6 separate regions of the Homo sapiens genome follow, and regions 1, 2, 3, 4 and 5 are each linked to region 6. The links are contacts of gene promoters, found by promoter capture Hi-C in human tissues and cell types (Jung and others, 2019). All regions are on one chromosome and are shown on one strand. Each heading gives the region's core, a stretch centred on a gene start or on the middle of the fragment in contact. The rest is flanking DNA. Distances are from core to core; before and after follow the strand shown.

Region 1 (2,851 bases), core at 141-2,640, 160 kb after region 6:
ACACCGAGAGGAGGAGGACAGGGCGTCACACTCGGTCACTCTGAGTCCTGGCTCAGCTATTCACACCGAGAGGAGGAGGACAGGGCGTCACACTCGGTCACTCTGAGTCCTGGCTCAGCTATTCACACCGAGAGGAGGAGGACAGGGCGTCACACTCGGTCACTCTGAGTCCTGGCTCAGCTATTCACACCGAGAGGAGGAGGACAGGGCGTCACACTCGGTCACTCTGAGTCCTGGCTCAGCTATTCACACCGAGAGGAGGAGGACAGGGCGTCACACTCGGTCACTCTGAGTCCTGGCTCAGCTATTCACACCGAGAGGAGGAGGACAGGGCGTCACACTCGGTCACTCTGAGTCCTGGCTCAGCTATTCACACCGAGAGGAGGAGGACAGGGCGTCACACTCGGTCACTCTGAGTCCTGGCTCAGCTATTCACACCGAGAGGAGGAGGACAGGGCGTCACACTCGGTCACTCTGAGTCCTGGCTCAGCTATTCACACCGAGAGGAGGAGGACAGGGCGTCACACTCGGTCACTCTGAGTCCTGGCTCAGCTATTCACACCGAGAGGAGGAGGACAGGGCGTCACACTCGGTCACTCTGAGTCCTGGCTCAGCTATTCACACCGAGAGGAGGAGGACAGGGTGTCACACTCGGTCACTCTAAGTAAGTCCTGGCTCAGCTATTCACACCGAGAGGAGAAGGACAGGGTGTCACACTCGGTCACTCTAAGTAAGTCCTGGCTCAGCTATTCACACTGAGAGGAGGAGGACAGGGTGTCACACTCGGTCACTCTAACTAAGTCCTGGCTCAGCTATTCACACTGAGAGGAGGAGGACAGGGTGTCACACTCAGAGCCTCTGAGTCCTGGCTCAGCTATTCAAGTAATGGCTTTATGAATGACACGTCCGATACACAGCTTTAGAGAAAGGGAACACATCGCTTCTAACACTTCCTGACATTTCTTCTAACTCCTGACATTTTCAGATGCACGGGATGTTCACTGCAACAGCTGCTTCCAGCTGAGAAAGGGGCCGCCCTTTCTAACGTTTTAAAAGGCTTGGCTGTCTACCAAACGGGATTTTAAGGATAAAGGGATTTCATGCCACATTTCTCTCATAGAAATACATAAAATTACTAATAAAATTCAAAGCCCAGCCTTTCAGGGCAGGGACCCAGCTGACGCAGCAGCATCAGACACTCTGGCTGCCAAATGAGCAGGGGAGAGAGGCAGCCAGGTGACATAGCAGGGACAGGTGACGTAGCAGGGAGATGGAGCCAGGAAGGCTTCTCCTGGAGGCAGCCCCAGGCCACCAGACATGGGCGGCCACACCGTGGTAGCAGGCTGCAGTCACCCTGGCCAGAGCTGACAAAGTGGCTGGAAAATGAGGGGAGAAACCCTAGAAAGGAGCAAGCACAGAGAGAGGACACTCCCATCCAGCACATAAACGCTCCCCACGTCCTTGTTTGACCCTGAGCTGATGACACAGCATGTGGGGAAGACTCAGCAGAAATGGACGGCTGAAGACCGAGAACACTGAGCAGAGACTGCGGCTGCTGCTCACCACCTGAAAGTCTGGAGTTTGAACCTTCACAAGTTAGAGGCTTAAAAACACCACGGACTTCCCAGGAACATCCAGAAAACCACAGCTTCGCAGATCCAAGACTAAGGATGTGTCAGGCAGAAGAAAAAGCCAGACAGACCTGCCCTAACAGCATCAACACTGATCCTCTTCAGGGTGATCCATAAGAATTCAGCCTGCGAGAACAAAGCCCAACACTCTTCAGGGGAAGACAACAGAATCCAACAAAATTCAGAGTCTCTACCATATAAACTCTACCATATAAACAGTATATAAACTAAAATTCCAACACACAATCAGGAAGTACTGGACGTGTGAAGAAGGGATAACAGGATCCATGATGAAGGGAAAAAGTAGCCAAAAGAAGCAGATCCTGAGGCTGGGCACGGTGGCTCACACCTGTAATCCCAGGCGGGCAGATCACGAGGTTAGGAGATTGTGAACATCCTGGCTAACATGGTGAAACCTCCTCTCTACCAAAAATACAGAAAATTAGCCAGGAGTGGTGGCATGCACCTGTAGTCCCAGCTACTCGGGAGGCTGAGGCAGGAGAATCACTTGAACCCGGGAGGCAGAGGTTGCAGTGAGCTGAGATCGTGCCACTGCACTCCAACCCTGGGCGACAGAGCAAGACTCCGTCTCAAAACAAAACAAAACAACAAAGTATTAGCCAGGTGTGGTGGTGCACACTTGTAGTCCCATCTACTTGGAAGGCTGAGGCAAGAGATCGCTTGAACCTGGGAGGTAGAGCTTGCAGTGAGCTGAGATCGTGTCACTGCACTCTAGCCTGGAGAGCAAGACTCTGTCTCCAAAAAAAAAAAAAAAAAAAAAAAAGAAAAAAAGAAATAGTTATAGCCAGGAGCAGTGGTTCATGCTGGTAATCCCAGTACTTTAGGAGGCCAAGGAAGGTGGGTTGCTTGAGTCCAGGAGTTCAAGACCAGCCTGAGAAACATAGTGAAACCCCATCTATACAAAACAAACAAAAAAATAGCTGGGCATGGTGGTACACATGTGTAGTCCCAGCTACTCAGAAGGCTGAGGTAAGAGGATCGCTTGAGCCAAGGAGTTTGCGGCCAGCCTGGGCATCATGGTGAAACCCCAGCTAAAAATTGGCCGGGAGTAGTGGCCAGTGCCGGTAGTCCTAGCTACTCTGGAGGCTAAGGGAAGATCACCTGAGCCCAGGAACTCAAGGCTGCATTGAGATGTGACCACAACACTGCTTCTTAGCCTCGGTGACAGACAGTGACCCTGTCTCAAAAAAGAAAGAAAA
Region 2 (3,033 bases), core at 433-2,932, 170 kb before region 6:
GAAGCAGATCATATAGCTTTCTTTTTTTTTTTCACACTCTTCAGACACTAGAGTGTTACAGCTTCATTCTAAAATCTTAGCCACATGCCAAGCACAGTAATACAAAACACACTGTTTAATACAAGAACAATAGGCTTCAAATCTTGTTTCTGGCACATGGAACAAGTCAAAATTACTTGCCAGATGATTAAAGCTTTTATTAATATTTGCGGGAAAGACTTAAGGTTTTTCATTTGCCCAATTTCCATATAGCTCTTTTTTTTTCTTTTCTCATAAGATGGCTTCCCAAAATTTGCATATCAAAGAGATAACCCTCAGGTGTTTGAGCAGAGTAGAAAATTTACATCTCAAAGGCACAGAACTTAGACTTCAGCCTTAAATATCTTCATTTGAAGAAGAGAAAAAAAGAAAGAAATGAAAAAAAGAAAGAGAAAGAGAAAAGAAAGAAAGGAAGAGAAAAAAAGAGAAGGAGAAAGAAGGAAGGAAGGAAGGAAGGGGAAGGGATGGGAAGGGAAGGGAAGGAAAGGAAAGAAAGAAAAAAGCAAGCAAGCAAGAACAAGGAAAGAAAGAAGGAAGGAAGGGAGGGAAGGGAAGGGAAGGGAAGGAAAGAAGAAAGAAAAAAGCAAGAACAAGGAAAGAAGGAAGGAAGGAAAGAAAGAAAAAAGAAAGAAAGAAAAAGAAAAGGAAGGAAGGAAAAGGAAAGAGGAGGAAGGAGGGAAGGAAGAAAGGAAGGAAAGGGAAGGGAAGAAGGAAGGAATGAGAAAGAAAGGAAGGAAGGAAAAGGAAAGGAAAGAAAAGAAAAGAAAAAAGAGAGAGAAAGCAAGCAAAGCGCTAATTAAGCCAAGATGGGGGTCAGAAATGCACGCTAAGTAAAGGTAAGTTTTGTGATGTAGATTTAAATCAATGCTTTCTCCATTCTTTTTTTTTGTTGTTTACTTTGTTTTGTTTTGTTTTGTTTTGAGACAGAGTCTTATTTTACAACCCGGCTGGAGTGCAGTGGTGCGATCATAGCTCACTGCAACCTCAAACTGTTGGTTAAATTTCTTTGTAAAGATGGGGTGAGAGGGTTTGGATTTGTGTCCCCACCCAAATCTCATGTCAAATTGTAATCCTCAGTGTTGGAGGAGGAGCCTGGTGGGAGGTGATTGGATCATGGGGGCAGACTTACCCCTTGCTGTTCTCAGGATAGTGAGTTCTCATGAGATCTGGTTGTTTAAAAGTGTGTGGCACCTCCCCCTTCTGTCTCTTCCTCCTGCTCCAGCCATGCAAGACGTGCCCCCTTCCTCTTCACCTTCTGCCATGATTGTAACTTTCCTGAGGCCTCCCCAGCCATGTGTCCTCTTTTCTTTTGCCTTTTTTTTTTTTGAGACACAGTCTTGCTGTGTCACCCAGGCTGGAGTGCAGTGGCGCGATCTCAGCTCACTACAACGTCCACCTCCCAGACTGAAGCAATTGTCCTGCCTTAGCCAGCTGAGTAGCTGGGATTACAGGTGCACGCCACCATACCTGGCTAATTTTTGTATTTTTAGTAGAGATGGGGTTTCACCATGTTGGCCAGGCTGGTCTCAAACTCCTGACCTCAACCTGCCTCAGCCTCCCAAAGTGCTGTGATTAAGGCATGAGCCACCACACCCAGCCTAAACCTCTTTTCTGTATAAATTACCCAGACTCAGATAGTTCTTTACAGCAATGAGAGAAGGGACTAATACACCGACTCTTACTATGTCACCCAGGCTGGTCTTGAACTCCTGGGCTCAAGCAACCCTCCTCCCTCAGCCTCCCAAAGTGCTGGCATTATAGGCATGAGCCACCACTTCTATCTCCTTTATAGAATTAAATTTTTCTTACAAAGGGTCTCAAAAGAATTGGATCAAAATAATCTTTATGCCAGAGTAGCACATTTGGGGCCTACGTTGGCTAGATCAGAGGCTTCTCAGCCCAGTTTATGCTTTTTAACTCCATCACTGAGTTCAGGGTGGCGCCTACTGATGAACTGGCAAGCATTTTCCATGCCTGGAGTTAGCATGAATAGGCCAGGATATAATTCTACATCATCAGCAAATTTCTGGGACAGGGAAACCTTTCACTATTGTTCTGAGCTCAGATTTTAATCAAGATGTCAATGTGGTTAAAGAAGGAAGGCCTGGTTGATCTAAAGGCCTAACACGATGAAAGTTTGGCTAACTTTCTTTTTGCCTCTGGGGTATAAAAGTTACTGAGCAAAAAAGTGAGTAGTTCAGAGCAATCTGGCAGAGCAAGATGGAGAGAAAGAGAGAAGGGCTCATCTGTGCTGAGTCAGTAGACATGCCCTTTTTCATTGTCAATTAACTGCTTTGGTTTTCTATTTGCCTTTTTCTATGGAGTCTTTTAGAGAGACAACTTGGGATTCATTTAGTCTTTTAGCAGCCTGTGCATGCCAATCAAAAAATCATCTGGGCATGGAGGTTCTCGCCTGTAATCCCAGCACTTTGGGAGGCTGAGGCAGATGGATCACTTGAGCTCAGGAGTTCGAGACCAGCCCGGCAACATGGCGAAAACCCATCTCTACTAAAAATACAAAAAATTAGCTGGGCTTGGTGGTGCATGCCTGTAGTCCCAGCTACTCAGGAGGCTGAGGCAGGAGAATCACTTGAACCCAGGAGGTGGAGGTTGCAGTGAGCCGAGATCACACTACTGCACTCCAGCCTGGGTGACAGAGTGAGACTCTGTGTCAAAAACAACATGTGAATTAAAAAATGCATTCCATTTTCTCTTAGTTGCTTTGGATCCCATCTTTTGCAGTGGATACCACAGATGAACAGCTTTGTCTAGGTCATCACTTACCCACTGCGGCCACCACTTAATTCTAAGGTGTCTTTGGTAAAGTTCACCAGTTTCTCTAGACAAGTACTGGTTCTCAGGTGGAGGAATCTCAGACTCTGTGGATTCAGATAAACTCATTATTCTGTCTTCCCAAACCCTTACCTATGTGAAGATGCCTACTAGGCCCAGTTCAGTTTCTGATAGATCCAGTTTGACGCTAGATCTAGTCTG
Region 3 (3,183 bases), core at 606-3,105, 140 kb after region 6:
GCGGACAAGGCCCCCAGGAGTTCTAGATGCTTCCTTCTCTGGTCTACAGGTTTGAGCCACTCCCTGGGGCCTGTGCAGATGGAGGGAGAGAGGGCGCACATCAGTGTTGACTCTGAGCTACAGAAGCTTCCATCAGGTTCTTCCAGCAAAGAGGCAAAGGCCCAGGGTTGACTTTTAAAATCAGAACTACTCAGTTCTTTTTTAAAGCAAATTTTTCCATCTTAAACATCAATGTGATGCTTCTTACAGTATAATGCTAAAACACTTTTGAAAAAAAAATCATTATCTGAAAAGCCAGAATTAGAAGTTAGCGTTTCAGTTTTTGAAAAACGGAAAAAAATGGTTAAATTCACAAGAAGCTAACAATGAAAGTGCCTGATACAAATAAATGAGAAAAGCCAACATCACAGACTGTAAAAACAATGACTTCGGGAGGTTGAGGTCACTTGAGGTCAGGGGTTGGAGACCAGCCTGAGCAACATAGCAAAACCCTATCTCTATAAAAAAAAAAAAATGTTTTAAAATTAGCTGGGTGTGGTGGCTCATGCCTGTGGTCCAAGCTACTTGGGAGACAGAGGCAGGAGGATCACTTGAGCCAGGAGATCAAGGCTGTAGTGAGCCGTGATGGCACCACTGGACTGCAGCCTGGGTGACAAAGCGAGACCCTGTCTATAGAAAACCTAAAATAGGCTGGGTACGGTGGCTCATGCCAGTAATCTCAGCACTTTGGGAGGCCAAGGCAGGCAGATCATGAGGTCAGGAGTTCAAGACCAGCCTGAACAACATGGTGAAACCCCGTCTCTGCTAAAAATACAAAAATTAGCCGGACGTGGTGGCGGGTGCCTGTAATCCCCAGCTACTAGGGAGGCTGAGGCAGGAGAATCGCTTGAACCTGGGAAGTGGAGGTTGCAGTGAGCCAAGATCGCGCCGCTGCACTCCAGCCTGGGTGACAGAGCCAGACCCTGTCTCAAAAACAGAAACAAAACCAAAAACAAACGAACAAATAAAAACCAAAAATAAGTAATGAAATAAAAACAGTGACTAAAAATCCAATTAAAACACAATCCAAATCTGACTTACAGTGATCCAGGCCTCACAAATGAAAATAATGATGCGTGGGGCTTGCTTTAAAATGCTCAGCCCTCAGCCCAAAGAGAGAGGGGGACAAGCCAGGAGGGCAGGCGCTAAAGCAGCTGATACAGGTGAGGGCGACGGGCCTCTCCTGGGCGATCCAACTCATGTGCACGTCTCACATTTTCCAAAGTTAAGGATTAAAAGAAAAGTGTTGCCACCACAGCACGTAGGTGACTCAATCCAGGCAGTGCTGGGAGCAGGTGGGTGGACTTGACCCAGGCGGTGCTGGGAGCAGGTGGGTGGACTTGACCCAGGCGGTGCTGGGAGCAGGTGGGTGGACTTGACCCAGGCGGTGCTGGGAGCAGGTGGGTGGACTTGACCCAGGCGGTGCTGGGAGCAGGTGGGTGGACTTGACCCAGGCGGTGCTGGGAGCAGGTGGGTGGACTTGACCCAGGCGGTGCTGGGAGCAGGTGGGTGGACTTGACCCAGGCGGTGCTGGGAGCAGGTGGGTGGACTTGACCCAGGCGGTGCTGGGAGCAGGGGATTCCTGTTGGGGCTTCATAACATGCATAAACTCGTGTATACTTTTGTGTACATACCAAGTCCTCTACAATTAATTTTTAAAATTATCACTGCCTTTTTTTTTTTTTTTTGAGACGGAGTCTCCCTTTGTCTCCCAGGCTGGAGTGCTGTGGCACGATCTCGGCTCACTGCAAGCTCCGCCTCCCGGGTTCATGCCATTCTCCTGCCTCAGCCTCCCGAGTACCTGGGACTACAGGCGCCCACCACCACGCCAAGCTAATTTTTTTGTATTTTTAGTAGAGACGGGGTTTCACCATGTTAGCCAGGATGGTCTCGATCTCCTGACCTCGTGATCCGCCCGCCTCGGCCTCCCAAAGTGCTGGGATTACAGGCGTGAGCCACCGTGCCCAGCTGAAGGCAGCTTTTTAAAGAACAGGATCTGAGGGAGGCTTGAGGACAGGGTGTCCTGGGCTGGAGGTCCGGCTGGAAGGCAGCTTTTAAAAGAACGGGATGTGTTCGTTCTGTAGGTGAAAGGAGCTCAGTAAGTGCTTATATTGGGGCCCAAATAGTGTTTGCCAGGAATGTATACACTCAGCCTCTGCAGTACACTTTCCCTGCTTGAGGAAATTCTATCCTCCTACTGAAACTGAGATAAATTAAAATGTATATTGTAATACCTATAGCAGTAAGAAAATAACAACTTTAAAGATACTGTTTAAAAATGTTCAACAAAAGAATTGAAGTGGTACACTAGAAAACACAACTAGAAAATACACATTTAACAGAAAAGAAGGCAGTGAAAGAACAGAGGAGCAAAACATGAAACATAAACTGCAAATATAAACACAAATCCACTCACATTGATAATTACATTAAACATGAGATTAGGTTTTGCGCAGTGGCTCATGCCTATAATCCCAGCACTTTGGGAGGCCAAGGTGGGAGGGTTACTTGAGCCCAGGAGTTCAAGACCAGCCTGGCCAACATGGCAAAACCCTCTCTCTACGAAAAATACAAAAATTAGCCTGGCATGGTGGTGCATGCCTGTAATCCCAACTACTTGGGAGGCTGAGGCAGGAGAATCGCTTGAACCCGGGAGGCAGAGGCTGCAGTGAGCCGAGATTGCGCCACTGCACTCTAGCCTGGGCAACCGTGCGAGACTCCATCACACACACACACAACAACAACAACAAAAACGGGCATGGTGGCGGGTGCCTGTAATCCCAGTTACTTGGGAGGCTGAAGGAGGAGTATTGCTTGAACCCGGGAAGCGGAGGTTGCACTGAGCTGAGATTGTGCCACTGCACTCTGGCCTGGGTGACAGAGAGAGACCCCACTTAAAAAAAAAAACAAAACAGCTGGGTGTGGTGGCTCACACCTATAATCCCAGCAGTTTGGGAGGCCGAGGCGGGCGGATCACTTGAGGTCAGGAGCTCAAGACCAGCCTGACCAACATGGTGAAACCCTGTGTCTACTAAAAGTACAAAAATTAGCCGGGTCTGATGGCACACTCCTGCAGTCCCAGTTACTCGGGAGAATGAGGCACGAGAATCCCTTAAACCCAGGAGGTGGAGGCTGCAGTGAGCC
Region 4 (2,693 bases), core at 75-2,574, 190 kb before region 6:
GAAGGCCTGAGCACTTGCCCGGTCCCCAAGAGATGCACAGAGGCCGGAAGGGGCAGTGCAGGGGCTGACCAACCTGCTCAGTCTCAGAACCACGCTCCGAACCCTCAGCCAGACCCCTCCCCAGGTGAAGTCGCAGCAGCACCAGAAACACGTGCACTTTATTGAATGCCATTGTAGAAAAGCGTGTGAGGATAAAGGGCTGATACAGGACTCGGCTCCGGGGGCAGGGCGAGGAATGGAAGTTGGAGTACGTGGGATACAGGTCATGGGCAGAGCTCCTGGCCTCAGTGATGCCTCCTGATCTATCCATAGGCCTGGAAGATCAGCACTGGGATGACGATGAGCAGAATGGTCATGAGGATGCCCAGAATCAGGGCCCAGATGTTCAGGCACTTGGCGGTGGAGGCATAGGCCTGGGCCCCGGTCACGTCGCCAACCATCTTCCTGTCCCTAGACTGGGGGAGAGGAGATGGTGAGGGGACCAGGATCCCCCAGCTGAGAGCCGCGTGCTATGGCTCCGTCTCCTCATTGGCTCTCCCCGCCCTGAGATCAGGGACCACCTCCTCCCCTTCCTCACCCGGGCTCAGACTCTCCAGGAGCCTCGGGGCTCATCCTCCTTCTGCCTTGACCTCAGCACAGGCTGTTCTCCCCACCATGGGGTGAAGTCACCTGTGAGTTCCCTTCTCACTTTCTGGGAGAGCCTGGGTGCCAGTCTGGAAGGTGAAGGTGTAATTTCTTACTGGGCTATAGGGAGAACTGCTCTGGGCTAGTGGATAGCCGGGGACAGACTCTGAGCCAGCCAGCCAGCCTCCTGGAGCCTCCTCCTAAACCTGCACTGGGCAGATTCCCCAAGCCACACACACACACAGATCACACAGACAAAGCCACTGACGTGGGCACACACGGGACAGAGGTGCACACAAACTCACAGTCACAGGGACACACAAGTCCCCACCCCAGGCAGCATGTGGGCAGGTGGAGCTCCAGGCTCAGCGGCACCCTCTGAGCATTCCCTGGGGCCATACGCACCTTCACGGAGTAGGCGAATGCTATGAAGCCCAGGCAGCAGGGGTTCATGAAGAGGGTGTTGAACAGGGACCAGACGACATGGTCGGGCACGGAGGTCTCGCTGCGGATGTGGATCACGGTGGACGTCGGGGGAGCAGGGTTGTGGGGCGCCCCCAGCACAGCCACCTCGTGCTCCTCCTTGAGCATCTCATAGTTGGGGGGCTGGCCACTGTTGACAGGAGAGAAGAAGGTTTGGACAGTGTGATTCATGGTGTCCAGCGAAGACCAGCGGCGGTCGGGTTACTGGGATGGTTCTCAGTGAGCCCTCCCTTTCCCCAGTAGTTTCGGTTTCTCAACAGTTTCCTTTTCCTGGCATTTGTCAAATCGGGATTTGGCCGGGGCCAGATGAGGGCGGAACAAATTCCTGAGGATCAAATTACTTTAGGAGAGGGAGGAAAGAGGGGCTGAGGGCTAAGAGGGGCTTCCTCTCTAGAGCCCAAGGGAGCACAAGGCTCATCTTGTTAGTGGTGTGGGGTCCTGGAGACTTCCCCTGTGTTGGGGGTCTCCACACCCCAGGCCAGCAGCTGCAGGACCCCACTGTCCCGGTTCAGGGCTCCTGCCAGGCCTGCGCTGACGCCTCCACACTCCAGGCCCCACAACCGTTCCCCCAAAGCCCTCACCTCTGCCGGGCGCCGCGGCTCACGCCTGTAATCCCAGCACTTTGGGAGGCTGAGGTGGGAGGATCATGAGGTCAGGAGATCGAGACCATCCTGGCTGACACGGTGAAACCCCGTCTCCCATAACCCTCACTGTGGTGCCCAGGCAGCTGGATTATCCCATTACCTTCACTATGGTGCCCAGGCAGCTGGATTATCCCATTACCTTCACTATGGTGCCCAGGCAGCTGGATTATCCCATTACCTTCACTATGGTGCCCAGGCAGCTGGATTATCCCATTACCTTCACTATGGTGCCCAGGCAGCTGGATTATCCCATTACCTTCACTATGGTGCCCAGGCAGCTGGATTATCCCATTACCTTCACTATGGTGCCCAGGCAGCTGGATTATCCCATAACCCTCACTGTGGTGCCCAGGCAGCCGGATTATCCCATTACCTTCACTATGGTGCCCAGGCAGCTGGATTATCCCATAACCCTCACTGTGGTGCCCAGGCAGCCGGATTATCCCATTACCTTCAGTGTGGTGCCCAGGCAGCCGGATTATCCCATTACCTTCAGTGTGGTGCCCAGGCAGCTGGATTATCCCATAACCCTCACTGTGGTGCCCAGGCAGCTGGATTATCCCATTACCTTCACTATGGTGCCCAGGCAGCTGGATTATCCCATAACCCTCACTGTGGTGCCCAGGCAGCCGGATTATCCCATTACCTTCAGTGTGGTGCCCAGGCAGCCGGATTATCCCATTACCTTCAGTGTGGTGCCCAGGCAGCTGGATTATCCCATTACCTTCACTATGGTGCCCAGGCAGCTGGATTATCCCATAACCCTCACTGTGGTGCCCAGGCAGCCGGATTATCCCATTACCTTCAGTGTGGTGCCCAGGCAGCCGGATTATCCCATTACCTTCAGTGTGGTGCCCAGGCAGCTGGATTATCCCATAACCCTCACTGTGGTGCCCAGGCAGCTGGATTATCCCATTACCTTCACTATGGTGCCCAGGCAGC
Region 5 (2,958 bases), core at 187-2,686, 240 kb after region 6:
AACTCCTGACCTCAAGTGATCGCCTGCTTTGGCCTTTCAATGTGCTGGGATTCCAGGCCTGAGCCACCGCGTCAGCCTAGGATTTGCCTTTTAAGAAGTCTTTTCCGCCGGGCGCGGTGGCTCACGCCTGGAATCCCAGCACTTTGGGAGACTGAGGTGGGCGGATCACGAGGTCAGGAGATCGAGACCATGCTGGCCAACATGATGAAACCCCGTCTGTACTAAAAATACAAAAATTAGCCGGGCGTGGTGGTGAGCGCCTGTAATTCCAGCTACTCGGGAGGCTGAGGCAGGAAAATCGCTCGAACCCGGGAGGCGGAGGTTGTAGTTAGCCAAGATCGCGCCACTGCACTCCAGCCTGGGCAACAAGGGCGAGATTCCGTCTCAAAAAAAAAAAAAAGTCTTTTCAGGTTTTTGCATTTCTGACAACCGGATGGCCCCACCTGGACCTGCCAACCAGTTGTGTGGCCTCTACCCAGGGACTGACTCAGCATAAGCGGACAGCTTCGACTCCCTGTGATTTCATCCCTAGCTGACCAGTCAGCACTTCTGACTCACTGGCCCCCTACCCACCAAATTATTCTTAAATACTGGGATCCCCGAGTTTTGGGGAGACTGATTTGAGGAATAAAACTCTGGTCTCCCGAACAATCGGCTCTGTGTGAATTATGCTTTCTCTATTGCAATTCCCCTGTCTTGACAATAGACTCTGTCCCGGCAGCTGGCAAGGCGAACCCATGGGGCGGTTACAGTGTCTGCAACGCAGACACAAGCGACAGAGACTTGATCAGAATATACAAGGAACTCTGCAAGTCAGCGATGGTAAGAAGCAGGGCAGCTGGGCCTCCTACGCCTGCCTCGCCGTTCGGTCCCCCGGACACCTCTGGGCTTAGGACTCAGGGGAACAGATTCCCAGAAGCAGGTTCCCCGCCGCGTCCGGCGCCCGGGCTCTGCAGCCGCCCCCTGCTCTGCCTCCTGCACCCGCAGGGCGTCCCCCGCCGCTCCCTCCCCTGCTTCCTGCAGCGGCCCCCGACCCCAGTCCTGGCCCCACCATGGATCCTGCATCGCCGGGTTCGGCCCTGGCGGGTTCAGCCCCGCAGAGTCGGCACCCGGGCCAGGTCCATCTCCTCCAGCCCTCCCGGTGCGTCCCGCGGGGCAGGAAGGAGGCGAGGCCCAGCCGCCCCGTGTCGTGCAGGTGTTTTCCCGGGCCCGTCCGCGGCGGCTGCTGAGGACCTGGGGAGACCCAGCCTGTAGGATCCGCAGCTGCGGTGCGCGGCCGGCAGTGGCGCTCGGGCTTCGTCCCCGGGGGCGGGGCTTCGTCCAGGCGCGCAGGGACCAGCGGGCCTCGCCCTCCCGCGCCGCTTTCCGATTGGCAGCCGCCCGCGGGGCATTGTGGGCCGTCCGCGCGCCCGTCCCGTCGCCGCCGCCGCCGCCGCAGACCCCTCGGTCTTGCTATGTCGAGCTCACCCGTGAAGCGTCAGAGGATGGAGTCCGCGCTGGACCAGCTCAAGCAGTTCACCACCGTGGTGGCCGACACGGGCGACTTCCACGGTGAGGACGGCGCGGAGCCCGGGCGCGGCGCAAGCGCCCTCCAGAGGCCCCGGCGCCCCGATTTCCCCGGGTCTCCCGTTCCGGGACGCGGACCGGGTGGCGGTGCCCCGGGCGGCTCGTTCCGGGAGGAATGAGCGCAGGTGCCGGATGTTGGGGCCAGGGACAGCCGTGAGGGGAGCGGGGCCCGGGTCGGCCGTGAGAGGCGCAGGGCCAGCGGCGACCGTGAGGGGAACGGGGCCCGGGTCGGCCGTGAGGGAGCAGGGCCGGGGGCAGCCGTGAGGAGCTGGGGTCAGCCGTGAGGGGCTCGGTGCTGGGGTCAGCGGTGCGGGCGGTACTGACGGGTCCTTGCGAGCCGTGGGGCACGAAGCCGGAGCCCCAGCCTCGCCCTCCGCCCAGGGTGGGGTCGGCTGCGCCCTCAGACCCCGCACCCGGGACGGGCTGTGGGCAGCCCGCGGGAGCCCCTCTGTGCACCTTCATGGGTCGAGGCAGCTTTCAGAGCCTTTGAGTTCAGGAGAGATTCAGGGTAGAGCTTCGAGCTGACTTCCACGTGGCCAGTTTGTGGTCAGCGAGATGCAATTTTGTTGGGCTGATGTCTGCAGAGCGGGGACATCAGCTAGCTCTGACCAGAAGCTGCCAGTGCTGCCATCGCCCTTGAGCCCTGCGGTGCCCAGTGGGACAACTCCGTGGGCGGCAGGTGCCCGGCCTGCTGGACAGCCACCGCCAGACGCACCGGGTGGGTAAAAGCCGGTGCCCATGAAAGCACAGGGTTGGTACACTGTTAAATACTGGATTTTCCTGGGCTTGAGTTGTTTACATTGGAGAGAACTTGGAAAATACAAAGAAGGATTATTTATTAATACTTAGCTCTTCTGTCCTCTGCAGTGCAGAGTAGACGAGCCTTGTGTCTATGTTTTGTTGAGAACAAGTAATATTTTTTAAGAAAATCATGAAACGCTTCATGGATGAATGCTGCGAGCACCTAATACGGAAGTGACTTCCTCTCTTTTCTGCTTTCTCATGGTGACTTGAGAAACAGGCTTTAATTCCTCTTTGGTAACTGAGTAAGGGCATTGTTTATCTAGCAGAGCCTAGAGAGTGAATTGGCATGTTTGGCTGCTTAACCATAAAATATGGGGATTCAGTGACTGGCTTGGGGTGCCACAGTCTGCTCCGGACCCCTCTTTGGGAGATCCAAAGCTAGAGCTGTGAATCCCTCACACACACAGCCCCCCCGTTGTAGTCCAGACCTCTCTTCATAAGAAAGAAAGCTCCAGAAAAGGGGCTACACATTTTTCTGCTGCTCAGTTTTTTCCCTTCTTAGCACTGAGAATAATTTGCAGTTTGCCTGGTGGACAGAGCGCTCATCTGTATTGTTCCTTACTGGCCCTCACCAGTTAGGGCAGAGCT
Region 6 (3,051 bases), core at 22-2,521:
CTGAGTTCAAGCCATTCTCCTACCTCAACCTCCCAAGTAGCTGGGATTATAGGCGCCTGCCACCACGCCCGGCTAATTTTGTATTTTTAGTAGAGACGGGTTTTCACCATGTTGGCCAGGCTGTTCTCGAACTCCTGACCTCAGGTGATCCGCCTGCCTCTGACTGCCCGGCCCAGTGTAACTGTTAACGGCAACATCGTGTGCAGTCTCCGGCTTGCATTCGGTTTAGTCAGCCAATCGCTAAGACGACACTTGAGACCGTTTTCAGATCTTTAGGCTTTCCACCATCCTAGAAGGGGGCCTGCCTGGTTCTAAGGCCCTTCTGAAACACTGCCAAACTGTCCTCGGGAAACGGTGCAGAAGTCCTCTGGTTTCCCCCAAGGCGCGTGGGCACCTTGGCTGGAACCTCGCCCAGTAACACGACGTGCCTGGGGCCCCTTCGTCATTTCCGCCAACCCCGGTGACAACCCTGACACCGGCCCCTAAGTGCCATTCCAGTTATGTTGCTCTCCTCCCCGCAGCCCCAGGCGGCAGCTTCGCGGCCCGGCGTCCGGTCCCCCGGTGGTCCCGGAGCGAAGCTCCGCAATGGAGAGCGGAGGACCCTCCCTCCCCGACCTCGCACGACCAAGACCGCCCACCTTTCCCCCAACGCCCGGCTGTGGGAGCCGTTCGAGTCTTCTCCGCCAGGGCGCTCCTTCCCGGGAGGCCGCTTCTTTGGGGGAATAAGGTCAAGGATTACGGGATTTGGGGAAGCAAGCTCGGCTGGGCCAGGATTGCTTGCGTAGCTCGCTGGAATCTAAGGCACTAGAGGGCTTGACGGCCACGTGAGGACGAACCACGCAGGCGCAGCCCCGCGCCCCGGGCAAGGACTTCCGGCAAGCCCCAAAGGGGAGCGTGCACCGCGATGACGTCCTCAAGGCGCGCCACGTCCGCCCGGCGGCGCAGCTGCCCAGCGCAACCTCGGCCCCGCCTCGATAGCCCCGGACCCCTGCCCCGCCCGACCCCGCCCCGCCACGGGAGCGCGCCACTCGCCCGCGCAGCAACGGCCTCAATAGCGCCAGGCCCGCGTCTACAAGAAGCCCGACCAAGGCCGGCGTGGGCGAGGCCTGGCTAGACGCTGACGCACCGCTGGAGCTACTGACCTCGGGACGACTGGCGGACGGTCGCGGGCCTGGAGACCCAGAGCGAGACGGCCTACTTCGTTCTCGAGCCAGCAGAACGGGTTGAACGTGTCGACAACCCCACCCGCCAGTCAGCGGCGCGGGCGTGTTCGAGCCGGCTCGTGGGCGTGGTCAGGTGCGTGGGCGGGGACTACTGGGCGGGGCTCGGCGCGGGGGCGGGGCCTGGCGGGAGTAGTCTCGGGGTCGGGGCGGGGCCCGGCGGGCGGGGCTCGGCTAAGCACAGTCTTGGCGCAGCGGCGGGGCCTGGTGGGGCGTGGCTCGGTGAGGGAGGTCTCGCTTGGGGGCGTGGTCTCCCCCAGTAGGCGGGGCTTGGTGCCGGGGGCGGGGTCTGGCGGGCGCGGGCGCGTGTGCGTGTTGTGGGCCTCGCACTGGCACGCAAGTCTCAGCAATTCCTGAGAATCCTCGGAGGAAGAGGCCGGGGCCCGGTGCGGCAGCGCCTTGGGGGCGGAATCGCAGGCGCGGGTCGGGCCTTGCTGGGGCGCGGGGCGCGGCCCCCGGAGAAAGCGGCCGCCTCGGGACAGGAGGGACCCGGGAGAAACCCCCCTGGGGCGGCTCCGCATGTCGGGGTCGCGACTCTAGGCGACCTTGGTAGAGGGGCTCGTTTGCGCCGAGCTCGCGACCCCCGAGGGAGCCACGGCCCCGTGAACCACGCTGCCCGTCCTGGCCACTGGCTGCCGCCTTTGTTTCGTGGGACCCCAGCCCGCAAGGCCTGCGGAGCCGCGGCCTCGTCCCGAGTGTTCTGAGCGCGGTCCGAGCTGCTCCTGCGTCCACTCTGCTGCCGACACCCGAGCGTCGCCTGGAGCCCTGGCACTGAGGGGCGCAGGCCGAGTTCCAGACCAGCCTGGGAAACGCAAAGCGACCCCACCTCCACAAAAGTGGGTTTTCTTTAAGTTTTTGACTAGTCCGCAATTCACAGAATTGACATTTTGGCAGATGAAGATTGCAAGTAAGGAAACTAACGGTATCTCAGATTTGTTCTTTAGCAATTTGCTAAACCTCTCCTCTGACTGCCTTTATTAGGTATTTGTTTTCGAGACAGGGTCTCACTCCACTGCTTAGGCTGTACTGCAGTGGCGCGATCCCAGCTCGCTGCAGCCTCCACCTCCCGGACTCCAGTGATCCTCCCGCCTCAGCCTCCCAAGTAGCTGGTACCACAGGCGCCAGCACGCCTGGCTAATTGTTGTATTTTATGTAGAGAAGAGGTCTCCCTGTGTTGCCCAGCCTGGTCTTGAATTGGGCTCAAGTGATCCTCCTGCTTCAGCCTCCCATATCGCTGGAATTACTGGCATAAGCCACTACACCCGGCCTGATCATCTTTAAAGAAGGTGGTTCTGGCCGGGCGTGGTGGCTCACACCTGTAACCCCAACACTTTGGGAGACCGAGAAGGGTGGATCACCTGAGGTCAGGAGTTCAAGACCAGCCTGGCCAACGTGGTGAAACCCCATCTCTACTAAAAATACAAAAATTAGCCAGGCATGGTGGTGGGCACCTGTAATTCCAGCTACTTGGGAGGCTGAGGCAGGAGAATCGCTTGAACACGGGAAGCAGAGGTTGCAGCGAGCCTAGACCACACCATTGCACTCCAGTTCGGGCAACAAGATGAAACTCTGGCTGGGCGCGGTGGCTCACACCTGTAATTCCAACACTTTGGGAGGCCAAGGCAGGCAGATCACCTGAGGTCAGGAGTTCAAGACCAGCCTGGCCAAGATGATGAAACCCCATCTCTACTAAAATTACAAAAACTTAGCCAGGCATGGTGGTGCATGCCTGTAATCCCAGCTACTCAGGAGGCTGAGGCAGGAGAACCACTTGAACCCAGGAGGCAGAGGTTGCAGTGAGCCAAGATCGTGCCACTGTACTCCAGCCTGG

Evidence for each region. Contacts are between HindIII fragments. The study calls those that stand out against the background at their distance.
Region 1: a contact is called between a fragment that was not itself captured here and the fragment with the promoter of RNH1 in region 6, in 2 of the 25 tissues and cell types used here (liver and spleen).
Region 2: a contact is called between a fragment that was not itself captured here and the fragment with the promoter of RNH1 in region 6, in 2 of the 25 tissues and cell types used here (IMR-90 fibroblasts and lymphoblastoid cells).
Region 3: a fragment that was not itself captured here is called in contact with the fragment with the promoter of RNH1 in region 6 in 2 of the 25 tissues and cell types used here (dorsolateral prefrontal cortex and lymphoblastoid cells).
Region 4: a contact is called between the fragment with the promoter of IFITM3 here and the fragment with the promoter of RNH1 in region 6, in 1 of the 25 tissues and cell types used here (IMR-90 fibroblasts).
Region 5: the fragment with the promoter of TALDO1 here is called in contact with the fragment with the promoter of RNH1 in region 6 in 7 of the 25 tissues and cell types used here (H1 embryonic stem cells, dorsolateral prefrontal cortex, liver and 4 more).

Annotation. Positions count from the first base shown.
Region 1 is chr11:664,483-667,333 of GRCh38, forward strand. All of the region lies in intron 10 of DEAF1 (DEAF1 transcription factor), which reads right to left. Among named protein-coding and RNA genes, the nearest start is that of DRD4, 29 kb to the left of the region's middle. The HindIII fragment of the contact is 6,229 bases long and covers 1-2,851 here.
Region 2 is chr11:340,427-343,459 of GRCh38, forward strand. No RefSeq gene overlaps it. Among named protein-coding and RNA genes, the nearest start is that of IFITM3, 21 kb to the left of the region's middle. The HindIII fragment of the contact is 5,319 bases long and covers 1-3,033 here.
Region 3 is chr11:646,486-649,668 of GRCh38, forward strand. The region is part of intron 11 of DEAF1 (DEAF1 transcription factor); the gene reads right to left. Among named protein-coding and RNA genes, the nearest start is that of DRD4, 11 kb to the left of the region's middle. The HindIII fragment of the contact is 6,426 bases long and covers 1-3,183 here.
Region 4 is chr11:319,536-322,228 of GRCh38, forward strand. IFITM3 (interferon induced transmembrane protein 3) reads right to left here and starts at 1,325. Exons shown (of 2, transcript NM_021034.3): 1 at 1,030-1,325; 2 at 141-455. The coding sequence starts at 1,278. The coding sequence ends at 303. The region is part of intron 1 of IFITM3-AS1 (IFITM3 antisense RNA 1); the gene reads left to right. RefSeq lists enhancers at 1-7, 1,120-1,675. The HindIII fragment of the contact is 9,942 bases long and covers 161-2,693 here.
Region 5 is chr11:746,028-748,985 of GRCh38, forward strand. TALDO1 (transaldolase 1) reads left to right here and starts at 1,437. Exons shown (of 8, transcript NM_006755.2): 1 at 1,437-1,551. The coding sequence starts at 1,455. It overlaps LOC105376509 (a long non-coding RNA gene), which reads left to right. Exons shown (of 3, transcript XR_930962.3): 3 at 722-935. RefSeq lists enhancers at 421-1,069, 708-767, 1,070-1,718 and silencers at 898-1,497, 1,558-1,847, 1,948-2,037. The HindIII fragment of the contact is 22,782 bases long and covers 1-2,958 here.
Region 6 is chr11:505,971-509,021 of GRCh38, forward strand. RNH1 (ribonuclease/angiogenin inhibitor 1) reads right to left here and starts at 1,272. Exons shown (of 11, transcript NM_203387.3): 1 at 1,143-1,272. It also overlaps a transcript of LRRC56 not described here. RefSeq lists an enhancer at 541-710 and a cis regulatory region at 626. The HindIII fragment of the contact is 14,362 bases long and covers 1-3,051 here.